Regions from separate parts of the Homo sapiens genome. Here regions 2, 3, 4 and 5 are each linked to region 1. The links are contacts of gene promoters, found by promoter capture Hi-C in blood cells and fetal thymus (Javierre and others, 2016). All regions are on one chromosome and are shown on one strand. Each heading gives the region's core, a stretch centred on a gene start or on the middle of the fragment in contact. The rest is flanking DNA. Distances are from core to core; before and after follow the strand shown. Region 1 holds the start of CENPF (centromere protein F). Region 2 holds the start of LYPLAL1 (lysophospholipase like 1). Region 3 holds the start of RRP15 (ribosomal RNA processing 15 homolog). Region 4 has its middle 6.5 kb from the start of RCOR3. Region 5 holds the start of GPATCH2 (G-patch domain containing 2).

Region 1 (2,835 bases), core at 142-2,641:
AAAAATATCCTCTATTATCTGTCTTTCTAGCTGTTTATTTTTCCTTAAACAGCCTATACATAGTTGAATAATTACTCTGGGAAGCAATGGAATTGTAATTTGTGTTGAAGCCAGACACAATTTGGTTCAAATTCTAAAACTACCAGACACTAGACTGATCATGGCAATGTCTGACAAAAGTTTTCCTCCCCTACCTGCTCTCTCCCCTCCCTTTGGGGATTCGAAGGTAGAAGATAGTAAGAACAAGGCCTTTCCCCAAATAGCAGTTTTATCTCCCAAGATGATCTGGATTTTAAATTACTATGTGCAAAGTTACTAGGGATGCAAAAATGAATTAAAACAGATTTTACTGTAAAGGAATTTTTGAGTCTGATGGGGGAGTCAGACGTAGACATAAATACAAGACAAGACACGGCGAAAATCCTAAACATGAAGTTTGCAAGTTCCAGGAAAGGTCTAGGAAATAATTATCTCTAAGGAGTGGGTGGGATTAGGGAGGTTTTATAAAAAAAGTGACACTTGAATTGGGTACTGCAGGAACAGTCTAATGAAAGGTAAAGTCAGGGGGCTGGAAAGTTTGGTACCTATTGAGGCAGACAACAGCATTAGAGATCTATTACTTTAACAATTAATTGTTTTGCTTCTGCCTTTAGAAGCTTATTTATAGTTTAATAGGGAAATAAAACGAGTATATAACATACATAGAAAACTAGTGGGCTTCACGAAAAGCATTACACCCCGTTTTGAGGATTCTTCTGAATTTTAAATTCTGATGCAGTGTCCTCCCCCCACGCCTTAATCCCGGAAAATAAGTGTTCAGAATCACGTCTTAGAAATATGAACCATAAAGGACAGCATTTAAGAGCGACATCCTGCATTGCGTAGATTCAATTTCAAATTACTGTACTTAGCTTCTATGAGCCTGTTAACTTTTTAATAAAATGAGGATAATACTTTCCTCAAAGAATTGTTAAGAACGACACCGGATAAAGAATGCATGACAAACACAGCACCTAGTATCTATGTCCTAAATTTACGTTTAATTAAGTAGATTGGTACGTGCAGTTTAAAAGAGGTTTCACCAGGCAGCACAGTTCCCCTGGCTGTAGGCGATAGACCACGCCTTCCTAATCAGCGGGCGCATTCCCTGACTTTTGCGGAAATAGCGGTCCAAAACCGCGTCTAGCATTAGCAAAAGCACGTGGTCTCCGTCTCCCCGCAACAACAAAAAAGAACAGTAAACTCCGGCGCAGGCACCTCCAGTAGAGGGCTTGTTTTTAAAATCCATCCGAAAGGGCCAATCAGACGCGGCAGTCTGAGTGCGCAGGCGCGGATTGGTCCGCAGCTACTTAGAGTGACCAATAGGCGTGGAGGTAAGTTTGGTTGAGACCAGAAGCGGGCGAATTGGGCACCGGTGGCGGCTGCGGGCAGTTTGAATTAGACTCTGGGCTCCAGCCCGCCGAAGCCGCGCCAGAACTGTACTCTCCGAGAGGTCGTTTTCCCGTCCCCGAGAGCAAGGTGAGCGTCCTGACTGGGTCCGGATCCTGGCCCTGGCGGCGGGCGGTAGGCGGCGGGCGGCGTGGGGGTGCCGCTGGCTTTTTGCCGGCGGGTACTGGGCGGGGAGGCCTCTGGGATCACTCTCCCGGCCCTGTAGGTGCCGGGGACCGCCCCCTCCCACCCGACCGAACTGGAGAATCCGCCCCGGGATGTGGTTCGTAGGGGTGTCTGCGCCCTTCTGCTCGGGTTCAAACTGGTCTCGGATTAGTGTCCCAGACCCTACTCGGTCACGGACTCACACTTTAGGGGATCATTTTCTTCCTCCGTAAAAGAATTGGAGATGACTAGGTATTTCCAAGCCGCCTTCCCAGTCCCGTAACCAACCTTATTGAAATTCAGGCCCTGGTCCTTTGTTTTATTGAGTAGATGTAAGCTTGAGTTTTGATCTGGTTGGCGACGTGGGGTGCCTATGGTTAGTTACGCGAGCATTTCTCTTTCCCCTCTCTTCTTCCTCCCGTCCACATTTTTTTTTTTCTTTTTTTAAATAGAGATAGGCCTCCCTATATTGCCTAGGCTGGTCTGGAACCCCTGGGCTCAAGGGATCCTCCCGCCTTGGCCTCTGTAAGTGCCAGGATTACAAGCATGAGCCACTACGCCCGGTCCTCCCTTCCACATTTATTTGAACGCGCCTGTGTGCCCGGCTCGGCTGTGTAATGAGGACCCAGAAATAAAAGGCATGGGTCGTGTCCTTGAGCCTGACCTAGAGGAGAAGGCAGGGTTATCATTCTCAGACCCAGCCTTGGTACAGTGCACGGGGACTCTGGCTTTTTGGAGGAGGTGGGGAATTCTGACAACGGGAAAGCAGTGGTGGAGGTGGGGCAGGAGGAGGTCACACAAGAGCTTCCTTGGGGACTAAGGGACTGGGTAGTTCGGGCATGAAGAGTGCCCTCCACGTATTTAAGAGATAAAGATACAGCATTTTCTGGAAAGGACAATAGTCCTGCAAGTCCTCCATGCAGGAACCTTCATCCAGGGCTTTTCTTCACTCCCCACCTCGATTCCCTGTTCCTCAAAAGTAAACTTCTGGGTTTATTTTTTTGTTCTTTTGCCCCAATGGCCCAATACAGGTGGCTGATAGCTGATCCCTTAATGGGCCAAAATCTGCTCTAATCACAGTTAGCTTGGTCTACATCTATATTGTTCTCTATCTTAGACTTTGGAATGGAAAAGCATTCAGCTTGCCAGTCTTCTTTATGTTTATTCCCCTCATTTTCTAATCATCTTTCTAAATTGCTCCTTTTTATATTCTGTTGGCTATAGCATCTTGATGTAATGATT
Region 2 (2,835 bases), core at 218-2,717, 4.6 Mb after region 1:
CTAATGTTGATAGTAAACAGTTTACTTACCTGTAAGTAGGGTGATTACCTGGAACAAATAAAAGGTAAGTTGTAATTGCTAAAATGTAATGCAGACTACAATGAATGGAAGGCCAGTGTTTAATGGTACTTAAGCTTTTACTGGGTTATTTTGTTGAATTTTACATGAGGCAAGAGCAACCTGCTGGGGCCACTGCCTTCAGTATTAAAAGATACCTATGTTTTGGACTTTATACAGGAAATAATTCCATTTCTTAGTATTTTTAAAATTATGGTAAAATACACATAAAATTTACTAGGTGTATAGTTCACTGGCAGTTATTAACACTGTTGTACAACCATCATCACTGTCCATTTTTAAAAATGTTTCACTATCTAAGCAGAAACTCTTGTACTCATTAAACAACAACCTCCCAACTCCCTCTTCCCTTAGTCCCTGGTAACCTCTAATTTCACTTTCTGTCCCTATGCATTTGCCAATTCTAGATATCTCATGTAAGTGGAATCATACAATTATTTGTCCTTTTGTGTCTGGCTTCACTCGGCATAATGTTTTCAAGGTTCATCCATGTTGTAGCATGTATCCGAATCACATTCTTTTTACAGGCTGAATAATATTCCATTCCAATATGTACATAGCACATTTGGTTTATCTCTCCATCTGTAGATGAACATTTGAGTTGTTTCCACTTTTTGGTACTTGTGAATAATGCTGCTACAGAACACTGAAGTACAAGTATTTGTTTGAGTCCCTGCTTTCATCTCTTTTGGGTATATACCTAGAAGTGGAACTGCTAGTACCTATGCTAAGTCAATGTTTAACTTGTTGAGGAGCCACCAAATTATTTCTATTGCCGCAACATCATTTTACATTCTGATCAGCTATGCACAAGGTTTCTAATTTCTACACATCTTTACTAATACTTATTTTCTGTTTTTTTGATAAGAGCCATTCTAATGGGTATATAAAGCAGAATCTCATTAAATTAGATTTGCTTTGTAAACTATTTATTAAAAATAAGAGACACGAAGAGAACTTATTATTATATGCTTCGCTTACCCTGTATATCAAGAGCTGCAAACATCCTGTGCGAGTCCCAAAGTGAAAGGTAAAATATGGTTCTATTAAATTTTAAACATAGTAACACGAATATTTCTCCAAATAAGGTAATCTTGAGTTTTGGGATTGCATTTAAAATTCCTACAGCAAATGCTCAGGATATAAACATATCCATTAGTCATTACAGAAGTCCACACGAGGCTGACACACGTAGAATACCATTATTAGCAAAACTAAACTCAGTACAGTTACAACTGCCTCAAACTTGACCCCAAAGTATTGAAAGCTCCTCAGAGAGCGGGCCAGCAGCGCTGCGCATGCGCGCTCCCGGGCGTGCTCCCGCGCGTGCCTGCGTATTTGCGTGCGCGGCCCCGCGCGGCAACGCAGGGGCGGAACCGCATGACTGGCAGTGGCATCAGCGATGGCGGCTGCGTCGGGGTCGGTTCTGCAGCGCTGTATCGTGTCGCCGGCAGGGAGGCATAGCGCCTCTCTGATCTTCCTGCATGGCTCAGGTGGATTTCAATTTTACGTCCTGGTTTTCTACAGCTCGGGAAACATCCTCCCCTCGGTTACCCCAGTATTGCCCAAGTGGAGGTGTCGCCGGGCCCAAATAGGGCCCAGTGGGTGGCTCCCCCGTCGCCAGCCCCGGCTGTAGATGCACGGGCAGCGCCACCTGCCCCCAGCCTCCCCCGTTAGTCTTCCTCTTTCTATCGGGCGGTCACTGGTCCACCACCCTCGCTTTGGGGCCTTGTGTCCCGCCGCTCAGCCAGCCCTCCATCCCCACAACACACCTCCCCATTCCTCGCCCCAAGTTTAAACAGAGCAAGTTAGTAAGGTAAGTCTTCTGCTAGAGGGAAATTATTTAGTGTTTTTCATTATCAGCTACTAGTGATTTTTCAGTCGTAATTGCCCATTGCTTTTTCCAGGCTCCCATACTAATGTAGACAATTGAGATTCACAGTTAACTTAGATACTGTTTACAGATTATCTCTTTTCTGTAAGCCACTGTGCCATGGCTGGAGTGCTTTCTCTCACTTTCCTTTTTGCTGCTTCTCTTTCCTTCCTTTCCCTTTCCCGCCTGTGTCATTAAACTTCCAAGATAGACTACAGGGGCAGGACCCCCAGGGACAGGCATCTTCCACTACCTGCCCTTAGTAACGTGTGCTTAATGCTGTATCGTTACTTAACACTCATCTGTAATCACTTTTGTCTGTCTTCCCCACTGGATTGTGAACTTCCCACTGGATTATGAGAGTAAGGGCCCTTGTGTCAACCTTTGCACCCCCAGTGCTTGGCCCAGGGTAAGCTCTCAGGAAATGTTTTTTAAAGAAATGAGATGCAGCCGGTGTCCTCAGGGGGCCTACCTAAAGTTAAAAACAAAAACAATCCAATTAGTTTGAGTCAGCAGTGCATGGAAGATCACAAGACGGTGCATGGTTTCCTGCCAAGTGAATTGTAAGAGAAAAAAATGTGGTTAGGCATTATTAAGGCATTTGGAAGATGAAAAGCTTGTCAGACTTTTCGAAGAAAGTGGTCTTTGAGCCGAGACGGGTAGGCTTAAATGGGACGGTGATTGGAAGGGAATTGGAAAGGTACTGGGCAGAGACCTGGAAAAGGGCAATTGTGGGAGGTATTCTCTTTATTTTGAAAATGAGGCCAGACAGGTTCAGCAGCTTGGCCAAGGTCTCTTAGCTGTTACTGTGAGTAGTGGCGGATTTGGGATTAGAACCCAAAGCTCTCCGACCTCAAACTCAGGGCTTTGGTGGGGTAAGGTGA
Region 3 (2,835 bases), core at 184-2,683, 3.7 Mb after region 1:
TGAGACAGAGTCTCGCTCTGTCGCCGAGGCTGGAGTGCAGAGTCGCGATCTCCGCTCACTGCAACCTCCGCCTCCAAGGTTCAAGCGATTCTCCTGCTTCAGCCTCCCGAGTAACTGGGACTACAGGCACTCGTCACTGCGTTTGGCTAATTTGTGTATTTTTAGTAGAGATGGGGTTTCACCATGTTGGCCAGGCTGTTCTCAAACTCCTGGACTCAAGCGATCCACTTATCTCAGCCTCCCAAAGTGCTGGGATTACAGGTGTGAGCCACCGCACCCGGCTAGACCCTCTCTCTCTTAAAAGACAAAAAAATTAAAAACCAAGTTTAAAAATGTTGTATTGAGTTTTTAGGATGTGAATATATATTTATTTCCTACATAAACATCTACTGGAATATGTCAAAATGAGGATTCTTGTTTTTGTTTTTGACTTATGGGTATCACAATCTATGAACCTCCTTAAGAGGGGAAAGGGAAAACGCTAAGTTTGGGGAAAGCCTTTAGAACAAGTCTAGCCAGTAAAGGTTTGCTGCATTATCCATCTGAGTCATTAACTTTGTCAATAGTTATATTCTGTCACTCATTCATTGATTCATTCATCCCTTCCAAAAATATTTTTGGAAAATTCACTTCAGGCCAACTTCTGTTGCTAACCTTGAGGGGACATGGTAAATGAAATACGTTCCCCTCCTGCGAGAAGCCAACATTTTAGGGGGGAAAATGAAGGCCGACTGTGGTAGGTGCTTCGATGGAACTAGGAGCTGGTGACAGAGGCTAACTTCAGAGAAAAGCTAGCCCCGGGTGGGAGGCAGGATCCTCGCGCGGATAGCAAGGTATTCGCACCCTCGGTCTGCACTGCGCAGTCGGGCGCCAGAAACCCTCCAGGCCCCAGCCGGGTCCGAGGGAGAAGGGTGCGGTTGGATTCAACACCCGCCCCAGGGAAAGAAGGTGAGTCTATTCGGTTTGCAAGAAAGGTCTCGCGTGTTATCTTGGGCGGGGGGATGATACGATCGTATTCTAATTATCGGCCCCCAGTGGATCTGTCCCGCGTCCTAGCTGCTGCGGCGTTCAGTGGGCACGTAAGAGACACCTGAGGAGGACACTAAACCAACATTAAGGCAGCAGACAAGGGAAGCCGCCGAGGCTAGGAAATCAAAGTGGACCGCGCTGGGCTGGGGACGGGCTGGGGACGCACTGGGGCGGAGGACCAGGGCACAGGCGAGCTAGCGGAGGAGTCGGCTGAGGCCATTCAGCCGCTGATTTTCGTCCTGGAACGGACTTCGCGTAAACACACCGAGCCATTCAGAGCTCTCTCCAAGTCACATTCTGAGGCTCCGGCCCCGGAACTCTGGGCTAGACGACCCCGCCCCGGAACCTTGTGTTACCGGCACTAAATGCAGAAGTTCCTCTGGTTGCCACCGGACGCAACTGTCAGGTGACGCTTCCGGCGCAGAAAAATGGCAGCCGCCGCTCCGGACTCACGTGTGAGTGAGGAAGAAAACCTGAAAAAGACCCCAAAGAAGAAGATGAAAATGGTAACTGGAGCCGTAGCGTCGGTGCTGGAAGACGAGGCCACAGACACTTCTGATAGTGAAGGTAATGTGGTAGGGCTGAGCTTTGGTGTCTGGGAGGAAAGGCGGGGCTGAGTTCGTGTCAAGCAGCGCTTGCGACTTCATTTGCTGCTAGCCACCTGGGTTTTATCTTGGCACCACTTCAGAGGGGCGACTTTGGCTTAGTGAGGAGGCTTGGGGAAGTCGTGTTCAGAGAAGTAACGCTGTCAACTGTAATTTTGAGTTTCCACATTCTTTTACTAGGTATTTTCAGGGTCACCATTATTAATTATAATAAAATGGGTGAAACACCTGCAGCTACCGAGAAACTTACAGTAGCAAAGGGTGAAAGGAAGAGGGTACTTGAAAACAGGAGAAGAATGGGTCTCATAGGGTGTAAGAAGCAAAAGGTTAAAAGAGGTAAGAGGAAGAAGGGGGTGTACTTGACTTTTTGTGCGGTAGATGTGTGCGTGTTTTAGAGACTAAATAATAGTGAATGAAAGAAGAGTTTGGTGGTTAAGGTCGATTAAAAACTGGTAGTGTTTGATAACTATGTCTCTCAGAGACGCTTGATAATAAAAGGAAGGAAGGATGTGTTTTTGAGGCTTTCAACCATGCTGTGTCTGTTGCTCCTCTTTACCATCATTCTTGGCACCAGCTTATTAGGTTACAAGGAATTGCAGGTAATCCCTGACTTCCTACTGCCCAGTTATTGCTCCTTTGTACCAGCTGATACCCAAAAAACAGACAGAGCTATTCTTTTATAACGTATTTCTAATTATGCCCGCTGTCTGTTTGAGATGATCCAGTGGCTTCTCATCTCAGTATATAATATCCAAAATCCTTAGGCTGTATGATTTGGGCCAGGTTGTCTGTCATAGGCCAATATGCCCCTCACAAACCACTAACTGTAATCATGCCATACCGGTATGCTTGTGTTTAACACCTTAAACATGCTCCCACACCATGGTTTCTTCATTTGTTGGCTCCGCTGCCTAGAATAGTTTTCAAATGCTTGGCATGTCTCTCCCTCACCAGCCTCTGATCCAGTGCCTTACCAGAGAGACTTGTCCCTGACTACCCTATGTAACGTACCACCACTACTCTTCTTCCTGCCTTCTTTTCTTCACTTTTTGACTTATTGCCCTGCTTTATTTTTTCTCAACCCTGCCCAAACCATTTGATGTATGTATTTGCTGCTTTCCCAATTGGAATATAAGTTCCATAAAAATAGAGCCTACTGTATCCCCAGTTCCTATTGCCTTGTGGGTCCTTCACAGATATT
Region 4 (2,835 bases), core at 252-2,751, 3.4 Mb before region 1:
ACACCTTTACACTTTGGGAGGCCAAGGCGAGTGGATCACCTGAGGTCAGGAGTTCGAGACCAGCCTGAACTATGTGGTGAAACCCCATCTCTACTAAAAATACAAAAATTGGCCAGGTGTGGTTGTGTGCTCCTGTAGTCCCAGCTACTTCAGGAGGCTGAGATGGGAGAATTGCTTGAACCTGGGAGGTGGAGGTTGCAGTGAGCCAAGATCGAACCACTGCACTCAGCCTGGGCAACGGAGCAAGATTCCGTCTCAATAAATAAATAAATAAATAAATAAATAAATAAATAAAATGTTAGATATATACATCTTGTTGGCTGTATCTCTATAGTCACTTTGCTTCAAGACACTACGTGTTGTCACGTGCGTGTGTGTGTGTGTGTGTGTGTGTTCCTTTCCTTATCCATATGAGTACTTTTCTGGAGTAGGCTCACATTTTTTGTTCCTATTTCCTTCCTCCACTTCTCAATCCACTGCAGCTTGGCTTTTCAGCCCATTAATCCCAGTAAAATTGCTTTTACCAGAATCATTCATGACCTCTTACTTGCATAAGCATTTAAGTCTTATCTCTCTTGGCCTGGTGACCCTGTTTCTCTTTGCATCTCTCTATACCCCTGGTTTCAGTAAAGCACAGTCTCCTAGTTCTCTTCCTATTTCTCAATTCCTTTTCACTCTCTTTCATGGATTTTTTTTTTTCTTCTTTTACACTCTTTAATATTGGTGTTCCCTTGCTTTTCATTCTCAGCTCATTATACTTTTCATCTTGTATGCTCTTCTTGTGTGACTTAGTTAGGTCTTTCTATGGTCTGAATGTATGTGTTCCCCCAAAATTCATATGTTGGAACTTAGTACCCACTGTGATTGTATTAAGAGGTGGGGCCTTTTGGGAAACTATTAAGGCATGAGTGGGGTTAGTGCCCTTATAAAAGATGTTGAAGGGAACTGCCTTGCCTCTTCTGCCTTGTGAGGACACAGCAACAAGGCAACATCTATGAAGCAGAGAATGCTCCCCAGACACCAAATCTGCTGATTCCCTGATCTTGGACTTGCCAGCCTCCAGAACTGTGAGAAATAAGTTTCTATTGTTTGTAAATGACCCAGTCTAAGGTATTTTGTTATGCAGCCTGAATGGACTAAGACAGGTCTTACAACCTTGGTTAGCTACAACCAATCACTAGCAACTCCTCTCTCTCCAGTGCTGATATTAATTTTATATCCAACTGCATATTGGATATCTCACTATGGAGTACCCAATATATCCAGAAATAAATTCATTCTTTTTTTTTTTTTTTTTGAGACAGAGTTTAGCTCTTGTTACCCAGGCTAGAGTGCAATGGCACCATCTTGGCTCACCGCAACCTCTGCCTCCTGGGTTCAAGTGATTCTCCTGCCTCAGCATCCCAAGTAGCTGGCATTACAGGCATGCACCACCATGCCCAGCTAATTTTGTTTAGTAGAGATGGGGTTTCTCCATGTTGGTCAGGCTGGTCTCGAACTCCCAACCTCAGGTGATCTGTCTGCCTTGGCCTCCCAAAGTGCTGGGATTACAGGCGTGAGCCACTGCACCCGGCGACTCATCCTTCTTGTCCCATAAAATGGCAAGTCTTCAGTATTCATCATCTCAGTTGTTGACACAATCATCTATCCAGACACCCAAGCCAAAATCCTTGTATCAGATTAAATTCATCCCTTCCTTTTGTCTTTCTATATTCAGTTCGTCCCCAGATTTTGCTAATTTTAGCTACTAAATATTTTTATCTGTCCCTGCCTCTAGCCTTGCTACCACTGCTGTAATTTAAGCCTCATCATTTCTTGATTACTTCAATAGTGTCCTTTTTTTTGAGGGTGGGGGTACAAATTCTATTCCATCTAAAATACCAATTGGACCCAATCTCCTGCTTAGATCTCTCTGATCCTGTTTCATTATCTGTAAATTGCCTAACCCTTTCGAATGCTATAAAAGACTTAATGTGATTCAGAACTTGCCTAACTCTGAGTTCACTTCATATTCTAGGAATACAAAACCGTTTTTAGTTGTCTGACATAACATCTTAATTCAATATTCTTTGCCTTTCCCATACTATTTTCTGTATCTGGAATGCTCATATTTTCCTTTATAAATAGTGCTTTTTTTTTGAGATGGAGTCTTGCTCTGTCACCCAGGCTGGAGTGCAGTGGCATGGTCTCAGCTCACTGCAACCTCCACCTCCTGGGTTTAAGTGATTCTCCTGCCTCAGCCTCCTGAGGAGCTGGGACTACAGGTGCGTGCCACCATACCCAGCTAATTTTTGTATTTTTAGTAAAGACAGGGTTTCACCATGTTGGCCAGGATGGTCTGAATCTCCTGACCTCGTGATCCCGCCCGCCTCGGCCTCCCAAAGTGCTGGGATTACTGGTGTGAGCAACCACGACCGGCATAAACAGTGCTTTCTCTATCCTGTTTAAGAAATGTTTGACTACCTGAAATTATAAAAGTGTTATTGTTTTACCTTTTACATTGAGGTCCACAACGTATTTTGATTTTTTTTTTCAGTATGAGTAGGCATCAAGGTTACTTTCTTTCCACATGATATGCATTGCCCCAGCATTACTTATTGACATGTCAAGTTTTCTCCACATTACTACAGTGTCACCTTTACATAAATAAAATGTTCACATAAGCATCTGTTTGGGAACTCTATTCGATCCATTTTTCTATTTTCTATCCTTACGCCAGTACCACAATAATTTTTATAGATGCTTTAGCAGTAATATCTGGGGGTATAAATCCTCCAACTTTGTTCTTTTTCTAGATTGTCTTGGTTGTTCTTGACCTTCCCAATTTCCATATAA
Region 5 (2,835 bases), core at 215-2,714, 3.0 Mb after region 1:
TGGACAAATCCATTATCTTGTTTTGTGTGGTGTTTACATAAGTATATGCAATTGCCAAAACTAATAAAATTAAGCCTGTAAAAATTGTGCATTTCATTCTATGCTAGTTATACCATTAAAAACTGGTTCATTTAAAAAATGCTCCCTACTTTTCTCACTGGAAAATGTAATAATTTACAAATAGTATAATCAAATCTATATTCACTATAAAATTAACTACAGGATGATCAGGTCCAACTAGAAATATTTTGGATAAGGTATTCTTTTAACTTTTCAGTGATAGGTGATGGAAAAGCAATTATCTGAGATCACAGACTACTAGAATTCCTCATGTTCTAATTTTTGCAGAATCTAGGAATGAACACGCACCATTTAGCCACATTTCTTTCACCTGTTGGTCAGAACTTTATGTTTGAGGATTTTCAATGGGAAATTGCTTGTTTGTGTCACTGGTTGTCTTATGTTATGTTTGGAGGAAAAGGGCTTGGGAGAAAAACAGGACAGATAATACAGAGTGTTCAACTAGAAATCCCCAAATCAGGATTCTAGCTCTAGGATTAAAATGTACAGGGCAACTTTGGACACGGTACTTGAATTTTCTGTGCTTGTGATATTCTGCTATCACAAGGCTGTCATAGGATAAAGTGTATTAATTTGTGGAAATACTTTGAAAAGTCAAAGCAATATATTATTCTAACATGATACCATAGACATAGTCAAGCCCCAAACTTAATCCTGACAGTTATAGGTTCTTGGAAAGCCCCCATACATATCTCACTTTAACTTGAATAGAATGTTCAAGAGGGTGGAAACAGGTAGGTTACCCTCTCTCTTTAAAAAAGGGGGTGAGAGGGTGATGTGTTTTCCACGATTGAACTTCCAGAACTCTAGATTTCTGGAATTTATCTTCCAAAAGACTTGGTATAATCTGGTAAATATTGAAAGAGGAGTGGGGAATAAGGCCCGGATTAAGATAAATTCTTCCTGTCCCTAGTGTTGTCAACAATCAATGAGGAGATGAATTGCTCCTGGAGTACAGGAAGCTTGACTTCTAAAATATTGTTAAACAAGCAATCAGAAAACATTTACTGTATTCTTTCACAAATCTTTGGCACACACCCAAGAGCTCCCTCAAACTGCGTGCATCCCAGGAATGAGTGAGAGCAAGGCCTAGATGTCTTCAGATCATCCATCACAGCTCCCTCCCGCCTCCATTCCAGGTCCAGCGGAGCGGCCTCGGGCAATCACACCCTTCCCTGACCTCCCCCTCCCCAGGGCCGCCAGCCTCACCAGCTGTTCCCGGCTGCTGGAGCTCCGATCGGTTGGCGCCCGGCGGCCCCGAACATTAACGACACCCGGGAGCCTGGCCTCGAAGCTCAGGCCCGTGAACAGACTCCAACTACAACAGCACCGGCGACTTCCAAAGAGCAGTTCAGCATTTTGAGATGAGCTTCCGGAAGCCGACAGGCGGCGGAAACCGGATGCCCGGAGCAACCATTAGTTCTCCGCGTTTACTGCTTTCCCCTTCCTATAATCCCCTCTTCCTACTCGCAGTAGAGACAGAGACAAATAAATTAAACTTTTGTGCTACACAGAAATTTCTTAATTCTCTTTTTAGTGCTCTTAAAGTCAAAGCAGCATGAGAGAAAAGAGGAGTGAACAAAAAGTCGAACCCCGGGAGTGAGCTATGGTTTAGCCCAGTTACCATGGAGACCGGTAGTAACACCAGTTGTAAACCCAAGGCCAAGAGACCATGGCCACGTTAGCCCGGCTGCAAGCTAGGTCGTCGACTGTAGGAAATCAGTACTACTTTAGGAACAGGTAAGTCAGGAAGAGAAGGATCGCGTAAAGGGCGGGCGTGACTTTATACCAGTTGTTCCTCAGCGGGAGTTTCCAATTAACGATTTAACGATTACCCTAATTCATTAAGTAGTACCCAATTCTTCCCTTAATGGGCTGCAAACATAATTGGGAGTTTCTGTTACCATACAACGAAATTCTAAATAGAGAGGGGCCGTAGATATTCAGTGTGAGATGATTTAAGGAAACTCCCAGCATAGATAAAATTGTAAAGTGCTTTTTTTCTTCGACATCACCACTCTGCAATTTGATGAAACCTATGTTCAATACCCTGACTGGGGGTCACCCTGACTCACTAGCCCAATGAACTCAGATTGTGTCCCATCTACCTAGGGATTTGAGCCTCCGTTATTTTACAAACATCACTAAACTCAATTGTTCTATGACTCATTCGCCTTTTTAAAATGAACGTATCTGCCGGGTGTGGTGGCTCACGCCTGTAATCCCAGCACTTTGGGAGGCCGAGGGGGGCGAATCACCTGAGGCCAGGAGTTCTAGACCAACCAGGACAACATGGTGAAACCCCGTCTCTATTAAAAATACAAAAACTAGCCGGGCATGGTGGCACATGCCTGTCATCCCAGCTAGTCCGGAGGCTGAGGCAGGAGAATCGCTTGAACCTGGGAGGCAGAGGTTGCAGTGACCCGACATTGTACCACTGCACTCCAGCCTGGGTGACAAATTAAGACCCTGTCTCAATAAATAAATAAATAAATATAAATAAAATAAAATAAAATGAAAGTGTCTAAACCATTCTGACACGGTAACTAGTACCAATATATTAATTAATAGATAACGGGTAAGAAAACCACTAGCAGTCTTCTTCATCTCCCTACAGCCAAACTTCTTGCCCAGGAAGAGTTTCATTTTAAAGAAGCATTGCCCCAGGAGTTTTTGTAACTTAAAAGAAACTGCAAAAAAGTGAATTAGACTATTATGGAATACAGTGACATGACAGACCAATGGAAAATATGT

Evidence for each region. Contacts are between HindIII fragments. The CHiCAGO score rates a contact against its expected background, and 5 or more counts as called.
Region 2: a contact is called between the fragment with the promoter of LYPLAL1 here and the fragment with the promoter of CENPF in region 1, in 6 of 17 cell types (total CD8 T cells, non-activated CD4 T cells, fetal thymus and 3 more). The highest score is 18.1, in total CD8 T cells.
Region 3: a contact is called between the fragment with the promoter of RRP15 here and the fragment with the promoter of CENPF in region 1, in 2 of 17 cell types (total CD8 T cells and total CD4 T cells). The highest score is 7.0, in total CD8 T cells.
Region 4: a contact is called between a fragment that was not itself captured here and the fragment with the promoter of CENPF in region 1, in 1 of 17 cell types (monocytes). The highest score is 6.7, in monocytes.
Region 5: the fragment with the promoter of GPATCH2 here is called in contact with the fragment with the promoter of CENPF in region 1 in 10 of 17 cell types (naive CD8 T cells, total CD8 T cells, total CD4 T cells and 7 more); the score reaches 16.3 in naive CD8 T cells.

Annotation. Positions count from the first base shown.
Region 1 is chr1:214,601,804-214,604,638 of GRCh38, forward strand. It overlaps CENPF (centromere protein F), which reads left to right and starts at 1,392. Exons shown (of 20, transcript NM_016343.4): 1 at 1,392-1,518. RefSeq lists a silencer at 1,286-1,495. The HindIII fragment of the contact is 1,274 bases long and covers 655-1,928 here.
Region 2 is chr1:219,172,411-219,175,245 of GRCh38, forward strand. It overlaps LYPLAL1 (lysophospholipase like 1), which reads left to right and starts at 1,468. Exons shown (of 5, transcript NM_138794.5): 1 at 1,468-1,571. The coding sequence starts at 1,481. LYPLAL1-DT (LYPLAL1 divergent transcript) reads right to left here and starts at 1,378. Exons shown (of 5, transcript NR_038845.1): 1 at 1,060-1,378. RefSeq lists enhancers at 1,299-1,348, 1,429-1,758. The HindIII fragment of the contact is 2,433 bases long and covers 133-2,565 here.
Region 3 is chr1:218,283,860-218,286,694 of GRCh38, forward strand. It overlaps RRP15 (ribosomal RNA processing 15 homolog), which reads left to right and starts at 1,434. Exons shown (of 5, transcript NM_016052.4): 1 at 1,434-1,596. The coding sequence starts at 1,458. RefSeq lists enhancers at 812-881, 1,412-1,691. The HindIII fragment of the contact is 12,027 bases long and covers 1-2,835 here.
Region 4 is chr1:211,251,421-211,254,255 of GRCh38, forward strand. No RefSeq gene overlaps it. Among named protein-coding and RNA genes, the nearest start is that of RCOR3, 6.5 kb to the right of the region's middle. The HindIII fragment of the contact is 9,951 bases long and covers 1-2,835 here.
Region 5 is chr1:217,629,626-217,632,460 of GRCh38, forward strand. It overlaps GPATCH2 (G-patch domain containing 2), which reads right to left and starts at 1,465. Exons shown (of 10, transcript NM_018040.5): 1 at 1,291-1,465. The coding sequence starts at 1,346. It overlaps SPATA17 (spermatogenesis associated 17), which reads left to right and starts at 1,719. Exons shown (of 11, transcript NM_138796.4): 1 at 1,719-1,821. The coding sequence starts at 1,754. RefSeq lists enhancers at 1,404-1,473, 1,504-1,743. The HindIII fragment of the contact is 9,292 bases long and covers 1,042-2,835 here.